3 separate regions of the Homo sapiens genome follow, and regions 1 and 3 are each linked to region 2. The links are contacts of gene promoters, found by promoter capture Hi-C in human tissues and cell types (Jung and others, 2019). All regions are on one chromosome and are shown on one strand. The core of a region is centred on a gene start or on the middle of the fragment in contact, and the rest is flanking DNA. Distances in the headings are between cores, read along the strand shown.

The links. The method cuts DNA at HindIII sites, captures the fragments that hold promoters and counts their contacts. A contact is called where the count stands out against the background at its distance.
Region 1: a contact is called between a fragment that was not itself captured here and the fragment with the promoter of SH3BGRL3 in region 2, in 6 of the 25 tissues and cell types used here (dorsolateral prefrontal cortex, heart left ventricle, hippocampus and 3 more).
Region 3: a contact is called between a fragment that was not itself captured here and the fragment with the promoter of SH3BGRL3 in region 2, in 2 of the 25 tissues and cell types used here (bladder and hippocampus).

What each region holds. Positions count from the first base shown.
Region 1 is chr1:26,102,028-26,105,611 of GRCh38, forward strand. No RefSeq gene overlaps it. Among named protein-coding and RNA genes, the nearest start is that of PDIK1L, 8.0 kb to the right of the region's middle. The HindIII fragment of the contact is 4,487 bases long and covers 1-3,584 here.
Region 2 is chr1:26,278,558-26,281,872 of GRCh38, forward strand. SH3BGRL3 (SH3 domain binding glutamate rich protein like 3) reads left to right here and starts at 1,529. Exons shown (of 3, transcript NM_031286.4): 1 at 1,529-1,646; 2 at 2,208-2,375; 3 at 2,501-2,965. The coding sequence starts at 1,599. The coding sequence ends at 2,566. It overlaps CEP85 (centrosomal protein 85), which reads left to right. Exons shown (of 14, transcript NM_001319944.2): 14 at 1-251. RefSeq lists enhancers at 1,050-1,937, 1,938-2,824 and silencers at 1,313-1,884, 1,361-1,810. The HindIII fragment of the contact is 5,211 bases long and covers 1-2,962 here.
Region 3 is chr1:26,128,724-26,131,841 of GRCh38, forward strand. No RefSeq gene overlaps it. Among named protein-coding and RNA genes, the nearest start is that of PDIK1L, 18 kb to the left of the region's middle. RefSeq lists a silencer at 1-229. The HindIII fragment of the contact is 7,689 bases long and covers 1-3,118 here.

The DNA of each region.
Region 1 (3,584 bases), core at 174-2,673, 180 kb before region 2:
CTCAAATTTCTATTTATTTTTTAAATTGACAAAAATTGTATTTATTTACTCATATGTACAACATGATGCTTTGAAATATGAATACATTGTGGAATGGCTAAATTTAAGGCCCAGTGTAAATGCTACCTCCTCTCTAAAGCTTTCCTGCCCGCCATTCCCCTCCACAGAAGCACAGTTTGGATTTCCTCCCCTGGGCTATGTAACCTCAGCTGGCACTGGTTGAATTGTACTGTCTGCATATTTATATGTCTGTCTCCCCTCCCAGAGAAAGTCCATGAGGGCAGGGACCTTATCTTTCTGTTCACTGCTTTTTCTCAGCATCAAGCACAATTTCTTGCACGTGGTGGATATTCACCAAATAGCTGTTGACTTAACGAACAAAGTGCCACCATGTGCCAGGCACTAGTTGACTTCTGAAGAGAGGGGTATATGTCAAGACATTTGTTAGCCACCCACCAGCCTCTGAATTTAAGCCTGCCAGTAAGCCCCATCCTTCAGGACACAGAGCTTGGTCAAGGAGGGGCCCACAACCCTATCTCTTACCCCCTACTCCCTAGCCCCTAGCCAATCAGGTCCAACAAGACTTAATTTCAGGAATGTTGTTTGAGGAATAGAGAAGTTGACTTTCTCATTCCTGCAGGATATGATCTCATAAGGCTGAATTCCCACTGGTGACCCCGAGGCCCACAAGGGAAGCCAGCCTTAAGATGAAGGCAGCATCATGGGAGGCAGAACAGAGGAAACTAGAGTCTTTGGTGACATGTGAGCTGCTGAATCAAACTTCCTTCCCGAAGCTAGCCCTCCCACCTCCATTTCTCTTAGGTAAATGTACCAATCATTCCTTTCAGTCACTTTGAGTTGAGTTTCTGCTCTTGCAACATGAAGCATCCAGAAGAGGCCAGAGAATCAGAGGAAGCCGAAGCTTTAACACTTCAGGACCTGCTGAGGAGTCGGGTGAATCCTCAGTTTGGGACACTCCCAACACCCCCATCCAGCATGGTTTTCAGATGGTGGCATCCCCAGCAGCTCTTGGACCCAGGGGCAGGAGATGTGAACCTGGGTCTTAACCATCAGCTGCTCCAGCTGTTCTCAGTCCTCACCAAGAAGACAACTAGGACCCATCCAAAGACAAAAACAGCTAATGTTATACCTGGTGCAAGACCTTTGTGGGCCCCCAGATCACTTGTCTCAGGGGCTGGATCAGAAATAAACATTTTGATCTTCTTATTACAAGCATAGTGGAGGTGTAGGATTCAAGAATCAGAGTGTTGGAGCTATAAGGATCCTTAGAGATGAGCTGGTCAGACCCCCTCATTTTGCAGATGGGGAGACTGAGGCCCACAGCAGGGGGGAGTCTTTCTTGCTCAAGATGACACAGCGTGTTAGTGCCAAAGCTAATACCCTTCCTAAAGGAGTTTCTCCCTCAGCCTCCCCCTGCAGAAATGGGGCTGGGGTGGCTGGGCACAGTGGCTCACGCCTATAATCCCAACACTTTGGGAGGCCGAGGTGGGTGGATCACCTGAGGTCAGGAGTTCGAGACCAGCCTGGCCAATATGGCAAAACCCCATCTCTATCAAAAATACAAAAATTAGCCAGGCATGGTGGCGCATGCCTATGATCCTAGCTACGCAGGAGGCTCAGGCAGGAGAATCGCTTGAACCCAGGAGGCAGAGGTTGCAGTGAGCCAAGATTGTGCCATTGCACTCGAGCCTAGGCAACAGAGCAAGACTCCATCTCAAAAAAAAAAAAAAAAAAGAAAAGAAAAGAAAAGAAATGGGGCTGGGGCTCCCCAAGCTTGGGAAGAAGAAGGGAGGGGACACTGTCGGGGATTCTCTCTGCTACAGCAGTTAGGAGCTGCTCCGGAAACATTCACTGACAGGCCTAGCCAGTCGCCCTTAATGACCTCATTGTGGCATTTTGATAACAACTTGTGGTTGGCTCAGTGGGTACTAGGTCTCTAACAATGCATCAATGATGCCTCTCATAATTTCTCCAGAGGAGAAATTCAGGGTCAGCAATCTGGTGGGAAGAAAGACTCCAAGATGTGCCTTGGGGACAGGGTGTATATGGGAAGTCTGTAATTTCCACTCAACTTCACTGTGAACCTAAAACTTCTCTAAAAATAAAGTCTTTTAAAACACACACACACACAACCGGGCATGGTGGCTCATGCCTGAAATCCCAGCACTTTGGGAGGCCAAGGCGGGCAGATCACTTAAAGCCAGGGGTTCAAGGCTAGCCTGGCCAACATGGTGAAACCCCATCTCTACTAAAAATACAAAAATGAGCCAGGAGTGGTGGCATGCGCCTGTATTCCAGCTACTCGGGCGCCTGTAATTCCAGCTACTCAGGGGGCTGAGGTGGGAGAATCGCTTGAACCCAGGAGGCGGAGGTTGCAGTAAGCCAAGATTGTGCCACTGCACTCCAGCCTGGGGGACAGAGCGAGACTCCATCTCAAACACACACACACACACACACACACACACACACACACACACGCAGTTAGACCCCAATTGAAGTGCCTGTGTGACTTTGGACAAGTTCTTTCACCTCTTAGAACCTTTGTTTCCTCAGTTGTAAAAGGGAGGACAATAATAGCACATGCTTTACAGGGTCACTGTGCAGATTAGATGAGATCACTCTATAAACAGTACTTTGCACAGTGCCTCGCACAGAAGTTAGTATGAATATTACCTATTATTTATTTATATTACCGATTTGTATTTATTTATCTATAGTTTATAGGTAAAATTGCTCCATGATAATCTGCTTCCTGTGGACCCATTCTAATTAGGGACAGCCCATTTGCCTCTTCCCATGTGACCTCTCTTCAGATAGGAAAAGTAAGGCTCAGATTCATGTTGATTTATGGGGCTGGGGACCTGGAGTCCAAAGACTCCAGGAGTCTTGGCTCCACCAGTGACTTATTAGGAACCTAAGTTACTGAGTCCCTTTGAGTCTCAGTTTCTCCAGATGTAAAAGGCTATGCTCATATTCTCCACTTCGTAGGGTTCTTGCGGGATAAAGGACTTGGATCTTGACAGGTCTGGGAATTCAGACCTGCTTTAGTGAGACTGGAGCATCAGCTTCACTAATGGAACCTGCCACCAGGGGGCAGGCTTGCTACATCCAAGTTCCCATTTGTCCAAAATACTCATTTCCTTTTTTGAGCGTGATTGTCTAACTTTTTATTATGGAAAGAGTCAAACATACACAAAGGTAGAATGGTATAATAAGCCTCACGTGCCCAGCACTAAGTTTCAACAACTATCAACATTTTGCCAATCTTCCCCTCTCTGTTTGCTGTGCTGATAGTGGAGTATTTTAAAGTATATTCCAGGCCTCATTTCGTTTCATCCATAATGCACGTGTGCTGAATTGAAAAAGACTTATTTTCGGCCAGGCACTGTGGTTCACACCTGTAATCCCAGCACTTTGGGAGGCTGAGATGGGCGGATCACCTGTGGTCAGGAGTTTGAGACCAGCCTGACCAACATGGAGAAACCCCATCTCTACTGAAAATACAAAATTAGCCAAGCGTGATGGCGCATGCCTATAATCCCTGCTACTCAGGAGACTGAGGC
Region 2 (3,315 bases), core at 279-2,778:
TTTATTTATGGAGTGACTTATCCCTTCCATTCAGAGCAGCCCCACCCAGCCAGCCCTTCAGCCTCTGGGCTCCTGCTGCTTAAAGGCAGAGCCGCCTGGTTGGTCTCCACCCTGTGCATTGGGAGCCCAGCCACCATGCTGACGGGTATTTTTCCTCATAAAGTTTATAACCAGTTATTTATATGAATCTTTGTTATGTCCATTTGTTTGTATTGCGTATTTTGATTATAAAATAAAGTATCTTAACAGACTCCTCAGTTTTCCATACCCTTCCATCACCACCACCACGCTATTCTACCCCTCACTTTGGCTTGTTAGAGCCAAACACCTGGGTGTTCAGCCAGGTCCCCCAGGCAGCAGCGTGGAGGAACCTTTGGCAGGTCCAGCCAGCCTCATGTCCCTATCTATCTCTGCCACCTCTGCTCCTCTGTCGTTCTATAGAACCAGATCTCTTCCCACTCACTTTCTCTTGGGCAAACCTTCCCTGAGTCATAACAGAAGTTTGTCACTGGAAAGTTTCAGCAGTCCTCTCAGGAAGTTGGCAGCCTCTGGGTTGCTGTGAGGAAGTGGCTTTACCAGAGCAAGGGTTGTCTTTCTGGGCTGTTAACCTGCCTGAGCCCTGGACCAGGGGGACATCTGAGAAGCATGATGTTGAGTGCCAGACAGCTAGGTCTCCAAAGTTGGGCTCGTTGCTGGAGTCTGCCCCCTCAACCGCTGAATTCTTGCTGGGAGTAGTAGCAGTTTGGGAATGCCATCTGCAGCATGGAGCTGGGGTTGAGCTTGGACCACCCCAAGACCTGGGGTGGATCTTAAGGGTCAGCTTGAGCCTAGGCTCTCGAGTCCTGACATCATCCTCTACCGCCACGCTTTCCAGCTGTCAGCCTTGGTCTCCATCTGGTTCCTTGAGGGTGTGGCCTCTGCGTCCTGCTATCACCCTTCCTTGTCTAAACCTTCCCACCTGAGTGGAGAGGAACTTGGGGGAAAATCTCTAAGCATGGGCTCTTCCTGCTGTCCTATGCTTCCTATCCCCTAGGGTTAGTGGTGCGTGTTGGGTGGTGGAGCGAGGGATCCCTTGGAGCAAGGTTCTTAGAGAACTTTGGGTCTGAAAGCAGCTCAAACCTTCCAAAGCCCCAAGCTTCCCTGTGCTATTAGAGCACCTCCTCCTGGAGAGAGCGGCTCTCGTGGCTGGGGAGTTGGATGCACCAAACCTGTGTGCGGCTGGAGAGGGAGGCTTCTGCCAGACCCTCTCCCGGGCCTGTCCTGCCACCCAGGCCCCTCCCCAGTCTCACACTGAGCTCCAGATCAGGGAAGGGCCGAAAAGGACGATCAGGGCAGCCGCAGAAGGGGCGCCCTGCGTGGGACGGGTCCGTTGCGCGCCTGGTAACCGAGGGGGAAGGGAAGGGGCCTCTGGCGTGCGGGGCGGTGTCGCGCAGGTCCCACCCCGCCTGCCCGCGCCGCCCATTGGTCCCGAGCGCGATGACTTGGCGGGCGGAGCAGGAAGGAAACCGCTCCCGAGCACGGCGGCGGCGTCGTCTCCCGGCAGTGCAGCTGCCGCTACCGCCGCCCTCTGCCCGCCGGCCCGTCTGTCTACCCCCAGCATGAGCGGCCTGCGCGTCTACAGCACGTCGGTCACCGGCTCCCGCGAAGTAAGTGCGCGCCCGGACTGGCGCTGGGGGAAAGCGCAGGGCTGTATCCCGGTGCTTTGGACCCTAGCGCCCGGGACCCACCCCCAGGACGGGGGCGGGGTGGGGGGAGTGCGTCGGCGAGGTGCTGGGCACGGTCTCCCGGACCCGGTCCCGAGGCCCCATCCTGAATGTCTTCATCGGGCATCCTGGGTCCTTTGCAGCCGCGGCATGAACTTCCCGTGCCCATCCCCCATCAACCCCACACCCATTCTCTGCACTCCCACTACCGGGCTGACCCTGACCACGACCGCAGCCTGCCCTCCCCTCCCCTCCCCACCCTGAGCCTGATCCCACTTCCCTTCACTCTGACCCCCTCCCCCGTGGCTGATAATCCCTCTCTTCATCCTGCACCACCTCAAGCCTGACTCATCCTCCCAACTCCTAGAGGCCAGAACCCTCCCCTAGTGTGGAGGGGAATGGGGGGACAAAAGCTCCTGGTCACAGCCTCTCTCACCCTGCCCAGCATTTCCCCCATAAATCCTCCAGCCTATCCACTAACCCCTACCCACCCTCTGTCCCCAGATCAAGTCCCAGCAGAGCGAGGTGACCCGAATCCTGGATGGGAAGCGCATCCAATACCAGCTAGTGGACATCTCCCAGGACAACGCCCTGAGGGATGAGATGCGAGCCTTGGCAGGCAACCCCAAGGCCACCCCACCCCAGATTGTCAACGGGGACCAGTACTGTGGGGTATGGGCTGGGGGACGGGGGGGTGGGGGGAGTGTTGGAAGAGGACTCTAGCCAGGGTCATATCTGCCACAAAGCACTTGGGCCCCCTGCATTCAGGTGACCACCCCTCGCCTCCCCTTCTCCAGGACTATGAGCTCTTCGTGGAGGCTGTGGAACAAAACACGCTGCAGGAGTTCCTGAAGCTGGCTTGAGTCAAGCCTGTCCAGAGTTCCCCTGCTGGACTCCATCACCACACTCCCCCCAGCCTTCACCTGGCCATGAAGGACCTTTTGACCAACTCCCTGTCATTCCTAACCTAACCTTAGAGTCCCTCCCCCAATGCAGGCCACTTCTCCTCCCTCCTCTCTAAATGTAGTCCCCTCTCCTCCATCTAAAGGCAACATTCCTTACCCATTAGTCTCAGAAATTGTCTTAAGCAACAGCCCCAAATGCTGGCTGCCCCCAGCCAAGCATTGGGGCCGCCATCCTGCCTGGCACTGGCTGATGGGCACCTCTGTTGGTTCCATCAGCCAGAGCTCTGCCAAAGGCCCCGCAGTCCCTCTCCCAGGAGGACCCTAGAGGCAATTAAATGATGTCCTGTTCCATTGGCACTGTGTCTGGTTGGTTGTGGCCTGGGCCTCCTGGGTCCCTGCCCTGGGCAAGGTTGGTAGTTGTGACTGTGCTGAGACTGCTCTGTGGGAAGGGTGGCTGAGCTGTTCTCTTGTGACTGTCACCTCTGTGTTTGTTAGTGCATGTGTTTGGATATGTCTGACACACAAATACCTGTATGGACCAGTGGTTTCTGGAGATGTCTGGGTGGGCCACCCTCCAGTTCACATGCATGTGTCCATATCATGCTTGTGCCTTGGTGTGTAGTGCACATCTCCATGCCTGTCAGTGAGTGTGGCCATCCCATGCGCCTGTGTTGGAGCACAATGGCTAAGAATGAGTGTATCATGGG
Region 3 (3,118 bases), core at 200-2,699, 150 kb before region 2:
AGCAAGACCTGCCTTAAAGAAAACATACACACTCACACACACACTCTCTCTCTCTCTCTCTCTCACACACACACACACACTCACACACTCACATTCACACACACAGTATCAGCTAAGTACTAATCAGTCATGCTTATGAAGAAACTATCAGACCTGAATGCAGGAAAGATCCCCTGAAAGGATTAGGCAGAACAATCCTGGAGCTCACACAGGACCAAGAATAATTGATATTTCCACCAGCCAGAACAGAAAGACCTTCTTCCAATATACAGAGCATCACAGAAGAGTATTGTCTCAGTAGTGAGGCCAAGGCTAACAGCTATTCTGGACCTGTCTATCCAAGCTTAAAAGTAAGTCTTGAAAGGTACACAGACAAAATTATAGCAAATTTGATTTAAAGATCTATATTGGCTTTTCTTTGTGATTCTAGAAAAAGGCAACACCTTATTCTATAAAATACAGTGAGTATTCCGATAAGCCAAGCAGAAAAGTATGGTTTTATAGACAGAAAAGGCCTGAGAAAAGCAGAAACAGAGAACAGAAAATTGTCTGGTTGTTTCAAAGTTACTTTCCTTATAGAGTTAAAACAGACACAGGCGTAGTGGGTTGCTGCGCCCTCCCAGGCGGTCCCAACAACTAGTGGACCAGAGCCCCCAGGGGACACAGCCTAAGTCCCTGCCCATCAGATCATCTGGAACTTCTGCCCAGAGAGGATCTGGAACTTCTGCCCAGAGAGGAGAGAGCGACTGGAAATTCTCTCAGTCAAGGTCCAAACCTAAAAGAATCACTGGCACGCCCAGCAGGACTAAGACCAATTTTTAATGAAATGTTTTCTGTGTTTGGGGTGCATAACTATATTTCTTTATAACAAAATTACTTAAATGTTTTGATTTTTTATTCCTCATATGCATGGCCTGTGACAGACCAGGGGACTTGTAAGCTCACAGTCCATGAGGTCAGAAGCTGACATCCTAAATGTCTATTTATAATGAATTTAAACAGACCAAAAACTCTGCTATGAAACTCGGAAAGACAAGCAATTTAGCAAAAATGAACCAGTCTCTAAATAAATAAAAAGATTAAAATTTAAAAATTAAAAACAACAACAACAACAAAAACAGAGGGAACTTCATTTTCATGCCAGCTCAGGTAAACTGGGCCCCTTTTGATTGGTTGCTGCGAATCTCCTGGGGGTATTTTTTTGGTAGCGGGGTGGGGGGTGGACTGGCCTGTTTCAGAGTTCAGTTTAATTATGTGGCACCCAGCATGAGTGACTCCATTCTGATTTGGCTCGGTCTGCTAGTGCTAGTGTACGAGGCTAGTCCAAAATAATGGTCTCCTATACATTTTATTTAACAAAATACATTTTTTTCTAAGTAACATAATGTGCTAGAACAAAGCTCAAAAATACTTGAGTCCAAAAATTCCACTTCTCAACAATATAAAATTCAAAATGTCTGCCAGCCAATTAAAAATATTAGAAATGGGCCAGGTACAGTGGCTCATGCCTGTGATCCTAGCACTTCGGAAGGCCAAGGCAAGAGGATTGCTTAAGTCCAGAAGTTCAAGACCAGCCTGGGCAACATAATGAGACCTCATCTTTACCGGGAAAAAAAAAAAAAGGAATTAGCTGGGGGTTCTGGTGTGGTGGCACATGCCTGTAGTCCCAGCTATTCAGGAGGCTGAGGCGGGAGGAGCACTTGAGCCCAGGAGTTGGAGGCTGCAGTGAGCCGAGATCGCACCACTGCACTCCAGCCTGGAGACAAAGCAAAACCCCAACTCAAAAAAAAAAAAAAAAAATTAGGACTTCTAATTTCTGGTTTGGCACAAAAGGAGCCTAAAAGTCACCACTCCATCCTAACAACAATTAAAAAGCTGAACACATGGAAAAATCAACCACTCTTCTTAGATATGTCAGAGCAGTGAGGTCACAGGGCAAACTGCTGCCCCTGTAATTGGAGAGATGCATTGGTAGATACAGAATATCACAATTTACTAGTGTGGAAAAGGTGCAGGGGTAGGAAAACCTAAACTGTAATTGATGAATTGCTTAGTATGGTCAACTCTGAGAGTTAAAAAGCCCAGGGGGACCCAATCACAGGAGGCTCCCCACACTATTACCTCCAGGAGCTCTGCCAGATCCTCACAGGTGCTCATTCTTCTGCTAACGGGAGGGGGAAAGGAACCATTTTGAAACCTGCCTGAACATTCTGTTCTTAACAAGGACAACCCTCAGGAGCAACTATTTTACCACAGCCTCATCTGTTGTGGTTTTATCAGCTGACCCTAACCTATCTGAGGGTATTCCAGCCCCCTCTAGCCATCCTGACCACCTAAGGGAACTTCACCAAGAGAAGCACTGGTGAAGTTCACAGTCCAAGGGCACAGGCTCACCTATGAAAAGCCCATGACCAAATCATAGGATTATAGAACACCCACCATCCCCAAATGTTACTACATTACTAAAGGCCTATTTATGGCAGTTCCTTTAGCCAGTACATTCCATCCACCTTTCACAAAAAAGTACAAGGGATACTAAAAAGCAAAAAATACAATTTGAAAAGTCTGAACAATCATCAGAATCTGAGTCAGTTATGGCAAGAATCCTGGAACTATCAGGCCAGGGATTTTTTTTTAAATTGTGATTAATATGCTAAGGACTTCAATGGAAAAAGTAGACAATATGCACACACAGATGGATAATGTAAGCAGAGAAATGGAAATTCTAAGGGTCAAAAAGATGCTAGAAATCAAAAACTCTGTAATAGAGATGAAGAATGCTTTTGATGGGCTCATTAGCAGACCGGACATGGCTGAGGAAAGAATTTCTGAGCTTGAACATATGACAAAACAAACTTCCAAAACTGAAAAGCAAAGAGAAAACGTCTAAAAAAATTTTTTTAAAGAACGGAATATCAAATAATTGTCGGCCAACTATAAAAGGTATAACCTACATGTAATGGGACTATGACAGGGAGAAAAAGGAGAGAAAGGAACAGAAGCAATAGTTGAGGTAATAATGACTGAGAATCTCCCCCAATTTTTTTGTTTTTTTGTTTTTTTGTTTTTGAGACAGGGTCTGGTTCTGTCACCCAGACTGGAGTGCAATGGTGCGATC